Linked DNA regions of Homo sapiens: all the other regions are linked to region 4. The links are contacts of gene promoters, found by promoter capture Hi-C in blood cells and fetal thymus (Javierre and others, 2016). All regions are on one chromosome and are shown on one strand. Each heading gives the region's core, a stretch centred on a gene start or on the middle of the fragment in contact. The rest is flanking DNA. Distances are from core to core; before and after follow the strand shown.

Region 1 (3,224 bases), core at 77-2,576, 330 kb after region 4:
CGGAAAAATCGCACGAAGAAAACAGCTATCCATATCTCACCTTCAGTGAAGTAGGTTGACTGTAATTTTACCATTCTCATGGCCAAATAATTTTGAAAATATCTGATTATTTCCTAAGGCTAAGTTTCTCGAAGTGGAATTCCTAGGCCAGTGAGTGTGAGTGGCTTTTTTTTTTTTTTTTTTTTTTTTATTGATCATTCTTGGGTGTTTCTCACAGAGGGGGATTTGGCAGGGTCATAGGACAATAGTGGAGGGAAGGTCAGCAGATAAACAAGTGAACAAAGGTCTCTGGTTTTCCTAGGCAGAGGACCCTGCGGCCTTCCGCAGCGTTTGGGTCCCTGGGTACTTGAGATTAGGGAGTGGTGATGACTCTTAATGAGCATGCTGCCTTCAAGCATCTGTTTAACAAAGCACATCTTGCACCGCCCTTAATCCATTTAACTCTGAGTGGACACAGCACATGTTTCAGAGAGCACAGGGTTGGGGGTAAGGTCACAGATCAACAGGATCCCAAGGCAGAAGAATTTTTCTTAGTACAGAACAAAATGAAAAGTCTCCCATGTCTACCTCTTTCTACACAGACACGGCAACCATCCGATTTCTCAATCTTTTCCCCACCTTTCCTCCCTTTCTATTCCACAAAGCCACCATTGTCATCCTGGCCCGTTCTCAATGAGCTGTTGGGCACACCTCCCAGATGGGGTGGTGGCCGGGCAGAGGGGCTCCTCACTTCCCAGTAGGGGCGGCCGGGCAGAGGCACCCCTCACCTCCCGGATGGGGCGGCTGGCCGGGCGGGGGGCTGACCCCCCCACCTCCTTCCCGGACGGGGCGGCTGGCCGGGCAGAGGGGCTCCTCACTTCCCAGTAGGGGCGGTCGGGCAGAGGTGCCCCTCACCTCCCGGACGGGGCGGCTGGCCGGGTAGGGGGCTGACCTCCTCCAGGACGGGGCGGCTGGCCGGGCAGGGGGCTGACCCCCCCACCTCCCTCCCGGACGGGGTGGCTGCCGGGCGGAGACGCTCCTCACTTCTCAGACGGGGCGGCTGCCGGGCGGAGGGTCTCCTCACTTCTCAGACGGGGCGGCCGGGCAGAGACGCTCCTCACCTCCCAGACGGGGTGGCGGCCGGGCAGAGGCGCTCCTCACATCCCAGACAGGGCGGCGGGGCAGAGGCGCTCCCCACATCCCAGATGATGGGCGGCCGGGCAGAGACGCTCCTCACTTCCTAGATGTGATGGCGGCCGGGAAGAGGCGCTCCTCACTTCCCAGATGGAATGGCAGCCGGGCAGAGATGCTCCTCACTTTCCAGACTGGGCAGCCAGGCAGAGGGGCTCCTCACATCCCAGACGATGGCCGGCCAGGCAGAGACGCTCCTCACTTCCCAGACGGGGTGGCGGCCGGGCAGAGGCTGCAATCTCGGCACTTTGGGAGGCCAAGGCAGGCAGCTGGGAGGTGGAGGTTGTAGCGAGCCGAGATCACGCCACTGCACTCCAGCCTGGGCGCCATTGAGCACTGAGTGAACCAGACTCCGTCTGCAATCCCGGCACCTCAGGAGGCCGAGGCTGGCGGATCACTCGCGGTTAGGAGCTGGAGACCAGCCTGGCCAACACAGCGAAACCCCGTCTCCACCAAAAAAATACGAAAACCAGTCAGGTGTGGCGGTGCGCGCCTGCAATTGCAGGCACTCCGCAGGCTGAGGCAGGAGAATCAGGCAGGGAGGTTGCAGTGAGCCGAGATGGCAGCAGTATAGTCCAGCTTCGGCTCGGCATGAGAGGGAGACCCTCTCTTTTTTTTTTTAAGACGAAGTCTCGCTCTGTCGCCGTGAGTGGCTTTTTGAACCTTGGTACTTAGCGCAGAATTTCTTTTCAGCTTGTATTTCTGGCAATGCCTGTACCTTGCTAACATTAAACAAACAAACAAACAAGAACTCCTTTTCTAATGGATTTGGTTTTGCTTTCATGGATTCAGGGGTAGGTTCAAGGTGGTGGTCAGTGTCCTGTCTGCGGTTACGACGTGCCTGGCATTTGTCAAGCCTGCCATCAACAACATCTCTCTGATGACCCTGGGAGTTCCTTGCACTGCACTGCTCATCGCAGAGCTAAAGAGGTAGGTGCCATCATTCCTGCCTACCCTTAGCTGTCCCCGTGCTGGGAACACACCAGTTCGGGGCTTCTTTGCTGTCCTGTAGCAGAAGAGGAGTTTTATTCCTTGTGAAGAGTTAGTTGCTGACTGTTGGATGGAAGCAATTTGATGGTTTGGTTCAAAATACTGGTAATCTCATTTTCAGTAGGAGGGGAGCAGCTGTTGAGCAGATGCAGTGCATCCCACTGATCACAAGCTAGCTTACCAGGACCATCTCAGTACCTAGATCAAGCTGTCTAGACTTAATTCTGTAGAAAAGAAAAGTCCTAGAAAGGTTATCGCATTCACACACAGAAGGAAAAAGAGGAAGGGGGCAGGGAAAGTGAGTTTGTATCTATAAGGAAATATGCACTTCAGGTGGACTGCAGTTGACTATGATACTTTCTCTGAGGCTTAATGTCTCATTTACAATCTATTAGGTAAAGGTTTTGCTCTTTGCATTAGCATTTTCTTTTGGGAACTTGTGTACTCAAATGCAAAAATCAGCTGGGCATGGTGGTGGGCACCTGTAATCCCAGCTACTCAGGAGGCTGAGGCAGGAGAATCGCCTGAACCTAGGAGGCAGAAGTTGCAGTGAGCTGAGATCACACTGCTGTACTCCAGCCTGGGTGACAGAGTGAGACTTGTCTCAAAAAAAGGAAAAAAAAAGCCGGGCGCAGTGGCTCATGCCTGTAATCCCAGTACTTTGGGAGGCCGAGGAGGGCGGATCACGAGGTCAGGAGATGGAGACCATCCTGGCTAACACAGTGAAACCCCGTCTCTACTAAAAATACAAAAAATTAGCTGGGCATGGTGGCGGGCGCCTGTAGTCCCAGCTACTTGGGAGGCTGAGGCAGGAGAATGGTGTGAACCCGGGAGGCGGAGCTTGCAGTGAGCCGCGATTGTGCCACTGCATTCCAGCCTGGGTGACAGAGCGAGACTCTATCTCAAAAAACAGAAAAAGAAGAAAGAAGAAAGCCCTTCTTTTTTTTTTTTTTCTTAATAGAGACAAAGTCCCACTGTGCTCAGGGGTTCTCAAACTCCTGGCCTCAAGCAGTCCTCTTGCCTCAGCGTCCCAAAGTATTGGGATTGCAGGTGTGAGCCACTGC
Region 2 (3,342 bases), core at 754-3,253, 350 kb after region 4:
ACCCCAGTGTGTGAAGTAAATTGTATGTTATTAAATTTATTTAAGGTTAAATTTATGGCATTTACTTAATAATATATGAGGTGGTGAAAATGCAAATTAACAAATTGGTAATTTCCAAGGTAGAAAAATTAGGTGTTGAATGAATGTATATGTTGGTTTATTATAGTTTTATATATATATAGAGAGAGTGTTTTGTTTTTGAGTCAGGGTCTTGCTCTATTACCCAGGCTGGAGTGCAGTGGTGCAGTCATGACTCACTGTAGCCTCTGTCTCCCAGGCTCAAGTGATCCTCTCACCTCAGCCTCCCCAGGAGCTGGGAGTACTGGTGCGTGCCTCCACTCCCAGCTAATTTTTGTATTTTTTCATAGAGATGGGGTTTCACCATTTTGCCCAGGCTGGTCTCAAACTTCTGGGCTCAAGAGATTCGCCCGCCTCGGCCTCCCAAAGTGCTGGGAATAGGCATGAGCCGTCACGCCTGGCCTAAAAAATATTTTTAAAATGATCTTTGAATTAAATATTCGTAGAATTTCTAATGTATCTCTTTGAGACCTAGGAGGTTGATGGAACAGAACTGCTGTTAAGTCCTTTGGGTTTCAAGTCTAGAATTTTTTAAAGGCAAATATCAGCTCATTCTTATTTTAGATTGACCTTATCAGGCATGGATTCTGGTCTCATCTACTTTATGGTATAAATGCTCCAAGGTAGGGGGTTTGGTATATATTTTAAGCCCGGCTTTTTTTTTTTTTTTTTTTTTTTTTTTTTTAATGTGAGAAGCAGAATGTGCTTCTAGAAACTGGTTTTAAAGAGATGAGCTGAGAAAGAAATGTGGAATGGAGTATATTTGAGGAGGACAAAACATAACTTCACTTTTGAACAGAAATCACTCTAGCTTGCCAGCATGGGATGTAAACCAAGAGAGTAGAAATATACCCATCTTATTTTAAGTTGGGTTTATGGCATCGCTCATATATGTAAAAGCACTACAAACTCTTTAAAGAAAATTGGGAAACTACAGAGAAGTCAAAGAAAAAAAAAAGTAACCCATATTTCTATTGCCCAGGTATAATCCTTGTTAATATTTTGGTTTGGTCTCCTCTTTTTTCCCCCAATATAGTTGTAAATAAATGATGTCTTTCAGAGTTGACATTTATCCTGTAGCTTGAATGGCATGTAAATGCCAGTTGTATATTTTTTCATGAAGTGTAGGTTTGGAATACACTAGAGTTAGCTATATGCTTGAATGCTGATCACTGGATTCTGAGACTGACTACTGAGTCTACCTTTTTAATCAAGCCTAACATGAATGGGCTCCAAAAAGTAATGAATGTAATTGTACTTTTTGATGTGCCTCTGCACTTGGCTTGGTGAGTCATCATAAATAGCTGTTAAATATGTGACTTTACAGATTTTGATATGTTCAGATTGTAAAAAATGAATAGTTTATTTCATTAATTGATGGGCAGTCAAGAATCTCCCTCCCTTCAGTAGGGCTGACACTTAGGAGTTAGGTCATGGTTGTGGTTACTTGGCATGGCTAATCAGATTTTGTTCTGGTCAGAATTTGCCCAAGATCAATACCCAGCAGAAACTGGAGTTAGGCTATAAAAAACCATTCATGTTTCCGAGTGATCATTTCAGTCAGCGATTCATGTTTTACAGTGTTTAGTTGTTGATTATTAGAAAAAGTAATATTTTCTTCCCTTTATGATTACATCATTATAAATCAAGTCCTTCCATGAACACATTTAAGGTGTGTGGAGATGAGATCTCTGAATCCATTTGGGGATGGGCTGCATTTTTGGGGAACTCTATGCCTGTCCAGTGAAGAGTGCCTAAAACATTAATTATAGATCAAAGATGTTCTGTTGAGGGACAAAGCTTGATGGTCATCAAACACAAGGCTTTGTAAAAATACGACCACCTATTCCACTTACTGGATCTGTCAGGTGTGTAAAACTTCTCTCGCCAGTTCATCATGCTTCCATGAGCCCTCAGGACTGGGATTTGAGCCTTCCTGGCTCTTTATCCCTTGGGGCAGACATGGAACCATCTCTGAGGGACCAGGTGGATGCTGAAGCTCACCCAGTCAGGGCCCCTCTCCTAGCTCCTTTTACACTGAAATTAATCTGAAAGCTTTCATAGCCAAGGCTTTGCCTAGGTGCTATTATTCCAGCTGGCCAAAGAGAAGTCTTGGGCCAGATTGGGATTCTCAATGGATTTTATAGACATAATTCCCCTGCAAACTTAAAAAAATAAATAACCCCTACTTTATAGGACTAATTGTTTGAATTGTATCTTTCTCTGTATGTTAAACCAGATTTAAAACTATTTTATAACCACAATATGTAATCAGAGCAATATAGTGTTTTCAGATATATACCTTGTTTTATACCTTATGTAGGTGTCCTACATAAGGGTGGCATGCCCACTGGCTGTGGTAAAATTTAATCCTCATTGCTTTGGGAGTGACTTAAGGCCTTTTGAAGTGGAGCTTTTGCACTTTATACTTTTTCTGTGAACTATGATAACTATATTTGATATTAAAGCTGTAAGTGGCATTTTCAGCAAATGAATATGTACATGTTTGTGTCTATTTCCAAAATGATTTCTGAACTATCTGCAGTGAAAATGTATCTGATGGATTGTAGAGCAAAGCACATTGCCTAAATTCATTTGTTAATGAATTGGGTACCATTGTTATTAAAAATGCGTAAAGTAATTGTTGTTCCTTGTTGGTTTCTTCTCAGAGCTGTGAAATTAACACATGAAAATATTTCCAGCATAAAATACCTAAGAACAGTTTATTTTTACTAAAACTTCTATAGTCATGTCATATAGATATAAATCTCAAATATAGGCCTGGTGCGGTGGCTCGTGCCTGTAATCCCAGCACTTTGGGAGGGGAAGGTGGGTGGATCACCTGAGGTCAGGAGTTCGAGACCAACCTGGCCAACATGGCGAAACCCCGTCTCTACTAAAAAAAATACAAAAATCAGCTGGGCATGGTAACTCGCACCTGCAGTCCCAGCTAGTCAGGAGGCTGAGGCAGGAGAATCACTTTCACCTGGGAGGCGATGGTTGCAGTGAGTCAAGGTTGCACCAATGCCCTCCAGCCTGGGTGACAGAGCGAGACTCTGTCTCAAAAAAAAAAAAAAAACCCAAAAATCTCAAATATAGAATACAGTTCATTTATGCTGGATTTCATCAAATCACTAGAAGGAAGATCGTGACATTTTAAAATCATAAATTTAGCAGGAAAATTTTTACCTACTTCTTTTAATTTTCTGTGGCAGTTTTTTAAACTGAAAGGACTCACAGATCATCAGATTTAGAAGAATAGTC
Region 3 (3,132 bases), core at 46-2,545, 380 kb after region 4:
TGAGGAGTGCTGAAGTCTCAGGTTTCAGTGCACCAGTCACTTGAGGAGTGTACGTTGTACCCAACATGTAGATGAATTCTACACAATTCATCATGTAACAAAAAAACATTAGTACCCTGGTATTCCTAAAGTATAGAAAAAAAGGATAAAATAAATAAATAAATAAATAAATAAATGGGTGCAGAATTATAAACCATATGAATGTACCTTAATTTTAAAATTTCCTTTTGCTGAACATTTAACATTTCTAATTTTTTGATATTATAATTACTGTAATAATGAACACCTCTATGTACACATTTGTACTCACATATCTGATTTTTTTCCAGTGTGTTGAATCGTGGAAGTTAACTTTCTGGATTAAAGATTATGTGTATTGTTACGGCTTTTGAAATATATTGTTGCCAAATTGCCCTCCAGAAAAGTTGTACTGATTTACAGTTTTATCCTCTGTCATGGTATATCTTTCTTTGTGTATTTTTTCAACATTTTGCACATTTTTACAAATTGTAAAATATATCACACATACAAAAGTTTATGTGACATATACATACATTTTAAAAGACTAAACAAAAATAAAAAACCACTGTGTTCTCATATCTCAGCTGTAATGAACTAAAACATTACCAATATCTTTGAACCTGTCCAAGGGGTGACTGCCTCCTTCTGGTTTGTCCAGAACTGTCCTGGTTTTAGCACTGAACGTCGCAGGTCCTAGTTAACCATTTAGTCTCAGCCTGGACAGCTGATCACCGTACCCCTATGTGCTTCTCTCCAAATCTACCTCCTCCCTCCTCCAAGGGTATCCTGTATGGACTTCTAAATAATGTACTCTGAGGTTTTTACTACATAAATGGAATCACATGATATGTTCCTTTTGTGAGTTGCTTCCAGCCAGCATTGTTTTTGAGCTTCATCCTATTGATATCTATAGCCGCAGTTCATATAGTTTTTCTGCTGACTGCCATCCATTTGATGAATACATCACCGTTTCTCCATCTTCTGTCAATAAACATTGCAGCTTTTGTTGCTGTGAGCTGCACAGCTCTGAACAGTCTTATCTGTCTCCTGGAGCAAAGGTCCAAGAGTTTCTCTAGGTTATTTTCCTAAGTGTTAAATTGCTAGAGGACTTACATAACCTCATCAGAAGTGCCAAATTGTTTTCTAAAGAAGTTGTGCCTATTTCCATCCACTAGCAATGCATGAAAATAGCTGTTTTCCACACCCTCATGAAGCAGTGTCTGACTTTGAAACTTTAGCCATTGTGGTTGCTATGAAATGGTATTTCATTGTGGGTTTAATTTACATCTTACTGATTACCAGTGAGATTGAACCTCTTTTCAGAGGTCGATTGGCAATTTCTGTTTCCTCTTCTGTGAAAGGCCTGCCTGCATTGTTTGCTCATTTTTCTATTGGGCCAGTTGTCTTTTTCTTACAGATTTGTGGGCCCACTATTTTTTGTTTTTATCAAGGTAAAATCAGGTTAAATTGGCTTTCAGAATCAGTCTGAAGGGATGAAAATCCAAAGGACTACACCTATTTAAGGGATGGACATATCAAAAGACAGAATGAAAATGCTTGTTACACAGTCCCTTCAGTCTTCTTTATCTGCAGATGGCTAATATTTTATGCTTTAAGAAATAAAACCAACTAACATTATCTTCTGCTCCAGTGGTTCTCAGCAGCATCCACATCATCTGTAGACTCATTAAAATGAAAATTACTTGGCCCCACCAACAGCCTACTGAATTGGGAACTCTGAAAAGAAGACCCTGCAATCTGCTTCAACATCCCTGCAGTGATTTGGATGCATGCCAAGTTTGGGAGCCACTGTTCTACATTGTCTCCTTGTCCCACCTGGTGGATGGAGAACTGACCATGACCTACCATTCTACAGGTCATCATCATCCTTCCACCTACAAATAGACATTAGAAAGTGTTTTTTAAGAAAAGGACAGATATTTGGGGCCCCAAGAATGGGATTTTTGGTGGCCCAGCTCAGATTGCAGGGTATTCAGTTTATGGACTACTTATCCTGTCAACACTCTAATGTCAAAACTTGGACCTAACCAGACCATTCTCTCTGCCCGAAGGAGGCATTAAAAAGAAAAAGGCAAAAAGATGGGACGTCCTGCCTGCGTGGGGAGATGTTTTCAGGGATGATGTCCATGTTGTTTTCTTCGGGTGTGTGGGTTGAGATAATTTCTCTGCTTTTGGTCCAGGAGAGCGTTCCTTGTCCTCTCCCACTCTGGCGAGGCTGGGGCAGCTTCCTCTGAGGCTGTTCCCCAGTCAGGCACCACTGAGCCGGTGCCAGTAATGAGCAGTGACCAGAAGTCTGCTATTTGCTCCAGGGCCTGTGTCTTCAGCACTTAGGTTGCCCTTCTCTGGATTCCTTCTCTTTGAAACCACCCAGGATAGCTGCATCTCAGGTGACTCTCATGGCTCACTGAGGGGCAGAGTCAGCCACAATCTTTATTTTGTTTTATTATTATTTTTTTGAGACAAGATCTTGCTCTGTCACTCAGGCTAGAGTGCAGTGGTTTGATCATGGTTCACGTGGCCTTGAACTCCTGGGCTCAAGCAATCCTCCTGCCTTAGCCTCCCCAGTAGCTGGGACTATAGGAGTGTGCCACCACACCAGGCCAATTACTTTTATGTTTTTACATTTTTTGGTAGAGACAGGGTCTCACTCTGTCACCCAGGCTGGAGTGCAGTGGCATAATCAAACCTCACTGCAGCTTCAAACTCTTGGGCTCAAGACATCCTCCCACCTCCGCCTCCCAACTGGCTGGGACTACAGTTACATAGCACCATGCCTGGCTATTTTTTTTTTTTTTTTTTTTTAGAGACGAGCATCTCGCTATGTTGCCCAGGCTGGTCTTGAACTCCTGCGCTCAAGTGATCCTCCTGCTTTACCCTCCCAAAATTCTGGGATTACAGGTATGAGCCACTGCGCCCAGCCCACACTGTATTTTAAAGAGTCTTGATTGTGCCTGGTTAGCATCACTTCTAATACAGCTACATGAGTCTGTCTGGCTGCCAAGCTGAGAAACTCCTTGGATTTGCAGGAAAGTGACTTCAAGCATGCTGGCTGATGAGGAGGTCTTCCTCATCTGTGCACATGGAGGTGGG
Region 4 (3,276 bases), core at 243-2,742:
GCCCAGGAGTTGGAGGCTGCAGTGAGCTGTGATCGCACAACTGCACTCCAGACTGGGCGACAGAGTGGGAGACCCTGTCTCAAAACAAAAAACAATGGCTCATATCTATAATCCCAGCACTTTGGAAGACCGAAGCAGGAGGATTGCTTGAGCCCAGGAATTTTGAGACCAGCCTGGGCAACATGGTTAGCTACTGTCTCTAAAATAATAATACTTTAAAAAAATAGAGGCCGGGCACGGTGGCTCACGCCTGTAATCCCAGCACTTTGGGAGGCCGAGGCAGGTGGATCATGAGCTCAGGAGATCGAGACCATCCTGGCCAACATGGTGAAACCCCGTCTCTACTAAAGATACAAAAATTGGTTGGGCGTGGTGGCAAGTGCCTGTAATCCCAGCTACTCGGGAGGCTGAGGCAGGAGAATCGCTTGAACCAGGGAGTTGGAGGGTGCAGTGAGCCGAGATCGTGCCACTGCACTCCAGCCTGGCAACAGAGGGAGACTCCATATGAAAGAAAAGAATTCCTCTTGGCCTACAGTGGGAATGATTAAATAGAGATACTGGCTAAAGTTGATAAAACAGAAGTGGAAAAAGTAGGGAAGGGGCTTTTACTTTCCATACTTTTCTTAAAAGGGTATTTGTTTTTAATACCCTTCTCCGTTGTTTTATGCTAACTCCAACATGCCTTACTAATTAAAAAATTAAAAATTATAAAATTAAACAACCACCTTCAAAGGCTCCCTTGAGTCCAAAAGGTGTTTTGTACATATGGTTCCCATGCTCTTCCACTACCACCCGCCATCCCTCCCACTACTTCACAGACCACCCCTCCACCACATAGGCAGAGTTAAGCTGCTCCTCCAGTCTTGCACTCTCCCCATCTGCAGACTTTTGCACTCCCCTACAGAGCGCTTCCGGCACTCTTGCATTATTTACTGTCTGTCTCTGCCCCTAGGCTGGCAGCAACTGGGAGTAGGAACTTTGGAGCCAATGCCTGGCACAGAGTAACTGCTCAACCAATTCTGATTAATCAACCTCCGGGGTCTACAAAAGGGGGAGTCCCCCGGCGTCCCCCGGTTCAGGCTCCCTCGCCCCGCCGGCCCCGGCCTCCTTACACTCCGAGGTGCGTGTGCGACACGATCTTTCCGCAGGCAATGGTTGCCGGGCCTGGCTCGAAGCCGAGCGCCTGCAGATACATCCAGAGATGCTCCTTCTCGAAAGCGGTGACCGAGGCCGAGCTCATCCTCGCGGTAGGCACGGTGGCTGCAAAGAAAGAAAGCGCAAGCCCAGGGGACTCGGAGGGCCCTCAAGATCCCTCCCTACGGTCAGCCTGAGGTCGCGGTGGTCCTTCCATTGCCAACGCCTGCTCCTTTCACGCCCAGAGCGATTTCGCCTCAAAGGGCCTCACAACCTCCGGGAAATTGAGTTTCTAACGGTATAGTGCGGCCACCACTGCCTCAGCGAAGCCACCACAAACCGAGACTCCCGCCCTTAAGGAAGAGCAGTGTGCGCCGGCGCCGCCAGGCGTCCGAGGGAGGAGGGACTTCCGGCAAAGACTATATCTCCCGCCATGCAATGCGTCCTTCTCTCCTCCCTTCCGGCCATGCCCAGCCAAGAAACTGCAAGACCCACCGGGCATTGCGCGGCCAGCGACTTGCTCTGCGCTTGCTTAACCGCTGTCGTGCCCAGATCCTCGGGCCTTCGGGTTTCTGATTCTTGGTTAGTGGGGTCCATTTGCTTGTGTATCCTAGTTGTTACGTCACAAAAAAGCCATAAATGGAGCACTATGCCTCGGTGTAGAGTTAAAGCATTGGTTCCATCCTCCGCTATGCTCACTGTGACTCTAATCAAGTCACGTAATCTCTGAGCCTCATTTCTGTCGTTAGCGAAATCTATGTCCTCAAATGCCGGATGTTCCTTTTCCTGCTTTAAATGAAATCTGGCTCTATACTCCCCTGCAGTCCTGCAGTCTTTTTTTTTTTTTTTTTTTTTTTTGAGACGGGGTTTCGCTCTTGTTGCTCAAGTTGGGGTGCAGTGACGCGATTTCGGCTCACTGCAACCTCCGCCTCCCGGGTTCAAGCGATTCTCCTGCCTCAGCCTCCCGAGTAGCTGGGATTAACAGGTGTCCGCCACCACGCCCGGCTAATTTTTTTGTATTTTTAATGGAGACGGGGTTTCACCATGTTGGCTGGCTGGTCTCGAACTCCTGACCTCAGGTTATCTGCCGGTCTTGGCCTCCCAAAGTGCTGGGATTACAGGCGTGAGCCACTGCGCCTGGCCGCCTGCAGTCCTCTTAATTTTTTTTTTTTTTTTTTTTTTTTTTTTGAGACGGAGTCTAGCTCTGTCTCCCAGGCTGGAGTGCAGTGGCGCAATCTCGGCTCACTGCAAGCTCCGCCTCCCAGGTTCACGCCATTCTCCTGCCTCAGCCTCCCGAGTAGCTGGGACTACAGGCTCCCACCACCACGCCGGGCTAATTTTTTGTATTTTTAGTAGAGACGGGGTTTCACCCTGTTAGCCAGGATGGTCTCGATCTCCTGACCTCGTGATCCGCCCTCCTCGGCCTCCCGAAGTGCTGGGATTATAGGCGTGAGCCACCGCACCCGGCCCGTCGTCTTAATTGACAGCTGTTGCCTACCACAAACCCCACTGACAACAGGGCCTGGAAGTGGATTGGGTAACCTGCTTTTAAGTCTCATTGCTACCTCTGGCAATGATTGTCTCCTGCCTCACTAAAATCACCTTAATAAAAGAGAGAGAGGCGGGGCACAGTGGCTCACGCCTATAATCCCAGCACTTTGGGAGGCCAAGGTGGGCGGATCACCTGAGGTGGGGAGTTCGAGACCAGCCTGACCAACATGTAGAAACCCCGTCTCTACTAAAAATACAAAATTAGCCGGGCGTGGTAGCGCATGCCTGTAATCCCAGCTCAGCTACTCGGGAGGCTGAGGCAGAAGAATCGCTTGAACCCGGGAGGCAGACGTTGCAGTGAGCCAAGATCCTTCCACTGCATTCCAGCCTGGGCGACAAAGTGAGACTCTGTCTCAAAAAAAAAAAAAAAAAAGAGGAGAGAGAGAGAGAGAAAGAAAGAAAAGCCACTAAGTTGCCCAGGCTGGGCTCGAACTCCTGGGCTCAAGCGACCTGCCCACCTTGACCTCCCAAGGAATGAGCCACCGTGCCCAGCCTAAAAGCACCTTTTGAAGTTTATGCTATCACCCATAGCTTTTCATTATGGAGGTCATCTGTAAGATCTCTGACTCCATTCTGGTGGTGCACGCCTGT

Evidence for each region. Contacts are between HindIII fragments. The CHiCAGO score rates a contact against its expected background, and 5 or more counts as called.
Region 1: a contact is called between a fragment that was not itself captured here and the fragment with the promoter of HAUS6 in region 4, in 11 of 17 cell types (naive CD8 T cells, naive B cells, activated CD4 T cells and 8 more). The highest score is 12.6, in naive CD8 T cells.
Region 2: a contact is called between a fragment that was not itself captured here and the fragment with the promoter of HAUS6 in region 4, in 15 of 17 cell types (naive B cells, total B cells, total CD8 T cells and 12 more). The highest score is 30.7, in naive B cells.
Region 3: a fragment that was not itself captured here is called in contact with the fragment with the promoter of HAUS6 in region 4 in 1 of 17 cell types (total B cells); the score reaches 5.4 in total B cells.

The regions. Positions count from the first base shown.
Region 1 is chr9:19,432,985-19,436,208 of GRCh38, forward strand. ACER2 (alkaline ceramidase 2) reads left to right here. Exons shown (of 6, transcript NM_001010887.3): 4 at 1,963-2,100. Among named protein-coding and RNA genes, the nearest start is that of ACER2, 26 kb to the left of the region's middle. The HindIII fragment of the contact is 6,564 bases long and covers 1-3,224 here.
Region 2 is chr9:19,452,455-19,455,796 of GRCh38, forward strand. It overlaps ACER2 (alkaline ceramidase 2), which reads left to right. Exons shown (of 6, transcript NM_001010887.3): 6 at 1-51. Among named protein-coding and RNA genes, the nearest start is that of MAP1LC3BP1, 9.3 kb to the right of the region's middle. The HindIII fragment of the contact is 255 bases long and covers 1,877-2,131 here.
Region 3 is chr9:19,478,268-19,481,399 of GRCh38, forward strand. The region is part of intron 1 of LOC105375988 (a long non-coding RNA gene); the gene reads left to right. Among named protein-coding and RNA genes, the nearest start is that of MAP1LC3BP1, 16 kb to the left of the region's middle. The HindIII fragment of the contact is 6,627 bases long and covers 1-3,132 here.
Region 4 is chr9:19,101,412-19,104,687 of GRCh38, forward strand. It overlaps HAUS6 (HAUS augmin like complex subunit 6), which reads right to left and starts at 1,493. Exons shown (of 17, transcript NM_017645.5): 1 at 1,113-1,493. The coding sequence starts at 1,240. RefSeq lists an enhancer at 1,172-1,735. The HindIII fragment of the contact is 8,228 bases long and covers 1-3,276 here.